Linked DNA regions of Homo sapiens: region 1 is linked to region 2. Evidence: promoter capture Hi-C in 16 types of primary human blood cells and fetal thymus (Javierre and others, 2016). All regions are on one chromosome and are shown on one strand. Each heading gives the region's core, a stretch centred on a gene start or on the middle of the fragment in contact. The rest is flanking DNA. Distances are from core to core; before and after follow the strand shown.

Region 1 (4,007 bases), core at 641-3,140, 2.4 Mb after region 2:
CTCACTCATAGGTGGGAACTGAACGATGAGATCACATGGACACAGGAAGGGGAATATCACACTCTAGGGACTGTGGTGGGGTGGGGGGAGGGGAGAGGGATAGCATTGGGAGATATACCTAATGCTAGATGACGAGTTAGTGGGTGCAGCGCACCAGCATGGCACATGTATACATATGTAACCAACCTGCACAATGTTCACATGTACCCTAAAACTTAAAGTGTAATTAAAAAAAAAATTCAATTCTTTAGCAGTAAAGCAGTGGGAAGATGTCTAAGGACAACTGATATGCCAATTCGTATAGCCGTTTATCCACGAAGCTAATTCTGCAGTACTTAAAAATATTTTATATGCTTTATACTTCTTTCAAACTTGAGTCTTGAGCTTGTACTCAACATCGAGTTCGGCCCTGACATCTACTCTTTATAGTCGGTTACCTCTTTCTGAAGAAACAGGCTTCCAAAGAGAGACCAGGGGACTCATTAGATGTCTCATCTACCTTGATGATTGCTACCTTGATGATTGAAAACAGTAACCTGCTTCCTGAATCAAACACAAAACAGGCAACATGCAGTGTCTTTGCTATGCCACAACAGGGACTATTAGAATTTTTCTCACAATTCGGACTTTGGTTTTCAAAAGGGCTTGCGAGGGAAGTTACACACAAGAGAAAAACAATGAACCGAATGAGGACAATAGCCCACGAATTTAGAATGGAGGAAGCCCGTCCACCACAGCGAAAAAGCACAGTACCACATTGGCGGGTGCTCCAATATTTGTGAAATGTTGATGACCCTTTAAATGTTTCTGTGCAACCTCCACAACAAATACTGTGAATCTTGCTTATTAATGCGTTTCTCAATACGTTAAAATTCAGGAAATCATTAAGTCTAGTCCTTAACAGTGAAGGGCAAGCAATTTTCTGTCATTGAAATTACACAAAACAAAACAAAAAGCTCACGCCTGAATTGCTTCGGACTATTCAACTGGAAGATAGAAAAATATATGAAGTAAAGAAGAATAACCTACATAGAAGTTCCTATCTCTTATCTTCCTGAATACTTACCAGTACACTATTAGTTTGTTCTAAACTTTTCTTATATAAAAAGTAGCTGAATACTTTTAGGGAAATGGATTGTTTTGTCTGAATCATCCAGATAATTCAAACAATTCATTTTCCTAAGAACGATATGTGTGAGTCTGTCCTGCCCGGAAAATGCCCTCTGTCCTACTCAGGACACAAGTCACGCTCAGCTTAAACAGGCAAGGAATTGTCCCCTAGGAAGGAAATACGCCGTTGTCGTTCAGTGAACTCTGCAACCAACAGCAAGCCAAACTCTCCCTTGCACACAGTTCGTCAAGTTAATTCTTATTTTCCAAGGGCGCTTTCGTATTTCCATCTTTCAAAGACTCCTTCACCCACTGGCACCTAAGGCTTGCCCTAACGCATCCAGCCCCTGCCTCGCGATGGTGCGCTCCGCTTATAATAGCTCCGTCCTGTCCAATAAAGTTGTTTAAAATAAGAAATGTGCCAGATAATAGCCAAGTCCGAAGGAAAAAAAAAAAAAAAGAATTCCTGGGGTGGTGTATTGGTGTTGGAATGTGCCATTAGTTTTGGAGGGAGGAAAGTCCCTGGTGTGAATTGCCTCGCAGGTCGTAGGCCGCCACTGGACCTTCAGTCGTGCACTGCATTAGCGCCGTAATGGCAAAGATACGAAGAAGCGCGCAGGCAGGGGAGCCACGGCCGCGCGCACAGGCAAGAGCTGGAGACGACTGCGGAGCGCGTCCCCCACGCCCGCGTGGTGCGCTCTGGGGCGGCCCCCTAGCGGCAGGGCGGGGCGGGGCAGGGGGCGGAGAGGCCTGGCGCACAGGGCGAGGGCGGCTGCGGCGCAGTCTGCAGCATGGCGTACCCGGGGCATCCTGGCGCCGGCGGCGGGTACTACCCAGGCGGGGTAAGTGCTGACTGCGCGGGATCGCGGCCCAGGCGGCTCCGGGGCGCTAAGAGGCCACCTTGGAGATGCTGCGGCCAGCGGGGTGAGGCGCTGCTGGGCGGCTACCCGGGCTCCTTCCGCCCTCGGCTTCTCCCTGCGCTCGCGGCCTCGCCCTAGGCCCCTGGGGTTCGGCCTCTCCCCACGTTTCCCCGTCCCTTCTCCTGGATGGCCCTGCGGGGCCAAGGTGAGGGTGGATTGGGACCCTAGAAGCCCACCCTGCGGCTTCTCGGATACGCGGCGTGAAATCGTGTTAATTGGGTGTTGGCTGACCCCCACCCCACCCCACCCCCGCCTTCTTGGTTGCCTCCCAGAGCAACAACAGTCATTTTATTCTAGAATGATATACCTTCCTCCCTTTAAAAAACAAACAAACAAACAAACAAACAAACAAACAAAAAACGAGTGAGAAGGGGGACGGAAAAAAAGGGAAAACCTGCTGAAGTAAAAGACCTGTAGGAAGGCAGCCTCGCCGGGCGTCTGGGATGCGCGTTGTCTTGGGAACTGTTTCCGAGACAGGCAATGTTCCCTCGCCACCCACGAGATACAGCCCGGCCGGACACCTTACTCTTCCCTAGGCTACACCCGTCTCAGAATGTTACCAACTCCAGCCTTCCATCGTTCATAAAACGCTCTTAAAATACCATAAATGCTGTAACAACAAAAGGAGAATTTGAAGCCCTGCCATTCGTTGGCTTACCTAGTTTGCACTCACCTCAGTAACCTTCAGGTTAATAGGGATTTTAAAAGTTGCTTTACATATGTAGACATCACTTTCACAGCAACTCTTTATGGTCTAAGTCGCCAGTTTTTAAATTACGGGGTGTGAATGGAAGAGAGGGGTGGAGTGTTGGCAGAGTGTGCCCGGTGGTGGGGAGGTGAGCCTTGTGAAGGGCGGGCAGGCGGGCAGTTGTCTGGCCTTGCACAAAAGCCCTCAGTGGTGAAAGAAGAAAACTTGATTCGGCAGAATGACGTGTATGTGTTTCCTGTTTCACAGTATGGAGGGGCTCCCGGAGGGCCTGCGTTTCCCGGACAAACTCAGGATCCGCTGTATGGTTACTTTGCTGCTGTAGCTGGACAGGTTAGCTTTTCCCTTTAATATTAAAGAGCCGTTATTGTCTGCATTTGTGGTAGCTTTTGATATAGTGACACAGAAAAGCGAACTTCCTGTGGTACTGAGTCCCTTTGCTTCTGCAAAAGAAAAAAAAAGTTGTTTCTTATTTTAGTTTTTTATTTCTGAATGTTCAGAATAAATGAGGACAAAGTGTTACTCGTATTTATGTGAGTTCAGTTCGAAAGCAAACTTGTGGTTGAATTAAAGGGTCCAGGATGGTTTCAAGCGAAAAAATTCAAGATCTGGTAAATATAAACGCTTGTTTGTACAACTTAAAGACATATATTAGTAATTACATAGCTCGATTCTAATGGGCACTTTCTTTGGGTTGAACTTGATTGCTAATCATTCACCCCCTTAGGAAATATGGTAAAAACCCACCAGCTTCTAAATAAGGAAGTTACTGTTCCCTTCTTAGTATCAGAAAGTTAATCTTGTGAACAGTGTAGTTTCTCTTTGATGCAGATGCTGTTACTAGGTCAGCCCCTCCATGTCCTTATTAGGTGTTCTGGCCTGTTGACCCAGAGAAGCAATTAAGGTCAGCTCCCCAAGACCTTTCACTTGTCTGCATTCTGAGTTGTATGACAGGTGCTATCTTACATTGACAGGTGCTATCTTACATTGAGAGAGGACACTTCCCTAGTTCATGAGGTCACTGTGTGCAGTAAATATACTGTTGGTATAACCCAGACACGTCCAGAGGAGATGTTTGTTCTTATGAATTCAACCTAGTTTTGTTTTGACCAAAAGCTAGAAATAGCAAAATCTTAATGTGAAAACTGTAGAATATTATGGGATAAAAAACCTAAGACCACTTTTAAGGTAGTACTCTAAGAAATACAGCTTAAGAAATTGAATGGAAAATATAGTCTAAAACTGGAAGACCTTCCCCTTAAGTATCTACT
Region 2 (4,235 bases), core at 1,624-4,123:
AAAGCCAACAACGAAACTGAGTTGTACATGAAAAACTGAAGCTCAGAGAAGTTGAGAGACCTTGGCTGGGCATGGCAACATGGGAAACAGTCTGTGTGACACACAGCCCACATTCTTAACTCATGCACTATATAATCCCACAGTAAGCCCTCAACTCAACAACCTCTAGCGCCTTAAAAATCCTTAGATAGGCCGGGCGCGGTGGCTCTCGCCTGTAATCCCAGCACTTTGGGAGGCCGAGGCGGGCGGATCACGAGGTCAGGAGATCGAGACCATCCCGGCTAAAACGGTGAAACCCCGTCTCTACTAAAAATACAAAAAATTAGCCAGGCGTAGTGGCGGGCGCCTGTAGTCCCAGCTACTTGGGAGGCTGAGGCAGGAGAATGGCGTGAACCCGGGAGGCGGAGCTTGCAGTGAGCCGAGATCCCGCCACTGCACTCCAGCCTGGGCGACAGAGCGAGACTCCGTCTCAAAAAAAAAAAAAAAAAATCCTTAGATAATCAGAATGAGTTCACTGGTTTTAATTTTGCAAATACAATATAAAACATCAAGAAAATAAGAAGATACAGATTTTGTTTCTGTAATGCTACTTTGAATGTCGTTGGCTTGGTATACAACTATAATCACTTCAATATCTCCTATTACAATACTCCATAATGAGATCTACGATTCAGAATCATATTTTCCATCAATACAAGAAATAATCAGCTGTGCTCACTGCACTGCATTCTGTGTCCTAAAGGGAGGATATAAAATCCACCAGCTCTTAGAAGACATTTTAACAAGAGTTGGATTCAAAAGGAGTTTCACATCACTAAATCTCAGTAAGCTAGAAAATCCAATTAACTATAATACCCCCATTTGCCAGCACTGTACTTAATCCAAATTTTACTGATTGTCGATCAAAACCTTGAAATTATTTAAATATAAGGAACTTTTAGATTAATGTCCTTGGTTTCTTACTGAGACTCAATTGCAATGAATTATTTAACACAAAACTGGAGGGGCTCCAGCAGAATCATTAGCATTAGTAAATATATAGTTAATGTGTTTTAGAACACGGCTTAATGGACTCCAGAACCCGCCTCTGCGACGGTTTGGGTCAGGGTTGAAACATCCTCGTTAATAATGCACACGACTCAACATTTCCCTCTCTCACACTCTTCTTGGCTTCAAACTTCATCTTAATGCAGGGACTCTCCACATGTATCCCTAATTCTGAAGAGTGAAATTAATATCCAATACATGCAATAAATAAAACTAAAGATTGGTTTCATACCATAACTTTACAGTCATCTGGGGAAAGATTTTGCATACCAACACAAAATTTTAAGTCGAAAGACAAAAAAAAAAAAAAAAACTTGGCTAAATTTCGATCCATTGTACTCTCTCACTTGAAGAAAGTTTGCATATCTTACAATGAATGGGTGGAAGGATATCTGTAACACTCATGTGCATCCCAGGGTTTTATTTTAAGGAATTAAGTACCTTTATGTTTAATTTCCATTAACACTTTCGTTAACATGGATGACATTTAAAACAAGTGAAACAAAGACTAGGCAGCTTCCTAGGGACTCGCAGGGGTTATCTTTTGTGTCTATAGCATTCTCTTGCTCAGGGCAGTTACATGTTATTAGTGAAAGTTGTGACAGTAGGGGAGGCAGCTAACTCTTCAGGTTAAAAGGGGTTTTCTATGCCCAGTACTCAAAATCTAACAAACCCATTCCACGTGATACTGCTGTCACCCTATTACAACCTGTGACATGCATTTATTCGTCACTGTCCTAAACACTGTTGGTCAGTTGGTTTGTTGTTTGGTTTAAAGACAACAGCCCCTGAGCTCTATTAAATGGAACAAGTTCGAGAGACATTCCTAAATGTCCAGACAACTCCACAGCGCGCATTTCTCTCCAGCAGCGGGAAGATTCAGAGACCTCGAGACTGAACACCCAAATCTCGCTTTCCAGGACCCGAAGTACCGAACAATAGGTCCCAAGGTAACTGTCCCACTTCCCTTTAGGTTGGATACGTTAAACAATACCAGGGCACAGTCTAACGTTTCACCAATTTCCAAAGCTAAATTACTGACTAAACGCCCAATATCCAAGCCTGTGCGCAAAAAATAACAAGTGGCCCAAGCAGCCGCGCAGCCCCTTGCGCGGTGGGGGCCGAGGGGTCCCCTCGCCCGTCCCCCACGCGCGCGAAAGGGCGAGCACTAGTGGCGGAGGAGGGGAGAACCCATATTGTAGGCTTGAGAGAATCTACAAATGAACCCCCAGATCCTGAGGAAGAGGGGTCTCTTTCCTTTACGTCCTTGCCCTCCCCCGGGTCCCTAGCACTGTGCCCTCGATCCCCGCCTACAACGCACCCCACGCCAGCCCCGCTGGCAGCTGCATGGCTGGTGCCAGGAACGCGGCGGGGGCGCAGGCCGAGGGGAGCGGGCGCTGGGGGGGCCGGGGGCAGCGCGCTACTCACCAATGCGACTGAAACTCTCCGACAAAGTTCTCCGCAACTTCTTCATCTTGCCGATCTTCTCGGCCGGCTGCGGCTCAATGAGGTCACACATCTGGGCGACGCGGAGCCCCGACAACTTCCCCAAACTGGTCCAGGCACAGCTCAGACAACGGCGAGGGCGCGCGCCGCGGGGAAAGCGGCGCCTCCTCCTCCACCACCTCCTCGGCGGGCCGGGAAGCGACGCGCAGGTCTAGGGAGGCGAGCAGCAGGCAGGCGGAGGACGGCAGGCTCCGCTCCGGCCTGGGCCGCAGCTGGGCGGGCGGGGGCGGTTTACGTGGTGCCGGGGGCGGCCGCGCTCGCCGCCGCCGTGGTGGCCCCGCGCCGCGCCGCCGCCGCCCGGCTCATTTTCCCTCCTTTGTAACGGAGAGAAGCGCGGCCGGCAGGGGGAGTGGTGCGGCCGAAGGAGGAGGCGGGGCGGGCCGGGTACAAGGTGCGGGAGTCGCCTGGCGCCGAGTGCGCGGGGCGAGGGCGAGTGGGCCGGCGGGAGAAGTTCTCAGCCCAGAGTTGCGGGCGCAGCGCAGAAGGAGCCGCGGCGCGGAACCGCCAGCCTGACAGCTCCTGCTGCCCTCCTGCTGCCGCCGCCACGCCCCTCCCTCGACGAAGGCCCCTGGGCGCGGGATCCTAGCACGACCTCGGCTCCCCGCTCGCCTCCCGCGTCCTCCGCGGCCCTCTGTGTCTGGCTCGCGCCCCGGCGGCGCCCCCTCCCGGCCGCGCCCCTCCCGGCCGCCCCCGCGCTCCTCCCCCGCCCCGCCCGCGCGCGGGAGGATCACGAAGGGACCGGGGTGGGAGCGGGCAGCGTCTGGGGACAGCGTGTTGGGCTGTGGGGAGGTTACCGAAAGGAAACGGGCCGAGTCCAGTTGTTTGAGCGGTTTTCTCCTTCCACGAGCGTGTGTGAAAAAGCGCGGAGTTCGGTGGAGGGCAGCTGCCAGGACTGCCTCCTGGACTGGGTGCGGTAAGGCCTTAGGGATGCATTCAGATGTAGGGTGCCTTATTTTGGGCCGAGAAAGCTGTCAAGTGAAAGATCCAAGGGGAAAGGTGGGCCTGGATTTTTTTGTTGTTGTTTGCGGTGGGTTTTTTGTTTGTTTTGAGGTCAAGTGCAGAAGCAGCGGAAGCTTCAACTGTAACCCTCCAGAAGGCAGGGATCATGCTGTTTCCCTCATCCTTGTCTCTGATCTTGGTGACACATGTAGGTGATTTCTGATAGGAATACCCAGTTCTGCAGTAAATAGCAGACACAGCCCTTGGTCTTTTTCTATTAAATTCTTAGAATATATTTCTGAATTGGGAGATTTAAAGGCTAAACAGATTCCGACCTCCTTTTCCCCCACCTCAAAAACAGAACTTTAAAAAGGAGTGGGGGAGGTGTTTATAAAATCCCAGGACAAACAGTTCCAGCAGCGAACACACATCGTCTTCATTCTGAAAAAACCTGGTGCGGCGTGAGTTCCAAACGTCAGTCTCCCAGGGGAGAGAGAAGGAAGGTGGGGGAGGGCTTGATTGTGTTGATCTGAGGCCAGCAAACTCCTTATGAATAGAAACGTTAGTAATCTTGAGTCATTTGGCTGTGTAAGTAATAAGAGCTTGTGAGGGTGTGACAATGCTGTTTGGCTTGTAGGAAATTTTGGGGAGTTTATGTTTTGTTAAAAGATTTTTATCTTAAAAACTAGCCCCCTGCCTTCCTTAAATTGTGAGGTAAAACAGTGATTTGTTCCGCCCTACAC

Evidence for each region. Contacts are between HindIII fragments. The CHiCAGO score rates a contact against its expected background, and 5 or more counts as called.
Region 1: a contact is called between the fragment with the promoter of SRI here and the fragment with the promoter of CDK14 in region 2, in 1 of 17 cell types (neutrophils). The highest score is 5.1, in neutrophils.

The regions. Positions count from the first base shown.
Region 1 is chr7:88,217,921-88,221,927 of GRCh38, reverse strand. It overlaps SRI (sorcin), which reads left to right and starts at 1,890. Exons shown (of 8, transcript NM_003130.4): 1 at 1,890-1,952; 2 at 2,986-3,069. The coding sequence starts at 1,902. It overlaps SRI-AS1 (SRI antisense RNA 1), which reads right to left. Exons shown (of 3, transcript NR_120517.1): 2 at 2,704-3,179. RefSeq lists silencers at 1,668-2,167, 2,815-2,904. The HindIII fragment of the contact is 22,346 bases long and covers 1-4,007 here.
Region 2 is chr7:90,594,959-90,599,193 of GRCh38, reverse strand. CDK14 (cyclin dependent kinase 14) reads right to left here and starts at 2,873. Exons shown (of 15, transcript NM_001287135.2): 1 at 2,476-2,873. The coding sequence starts at 2,566. RefSeq lists silencers at 2,236-2,285, 2,346-2,545, 2,736-3,045, 3,066-3,265. The HindIII fragment of the contact is 4,165 bases long and covers 1-3,628 here.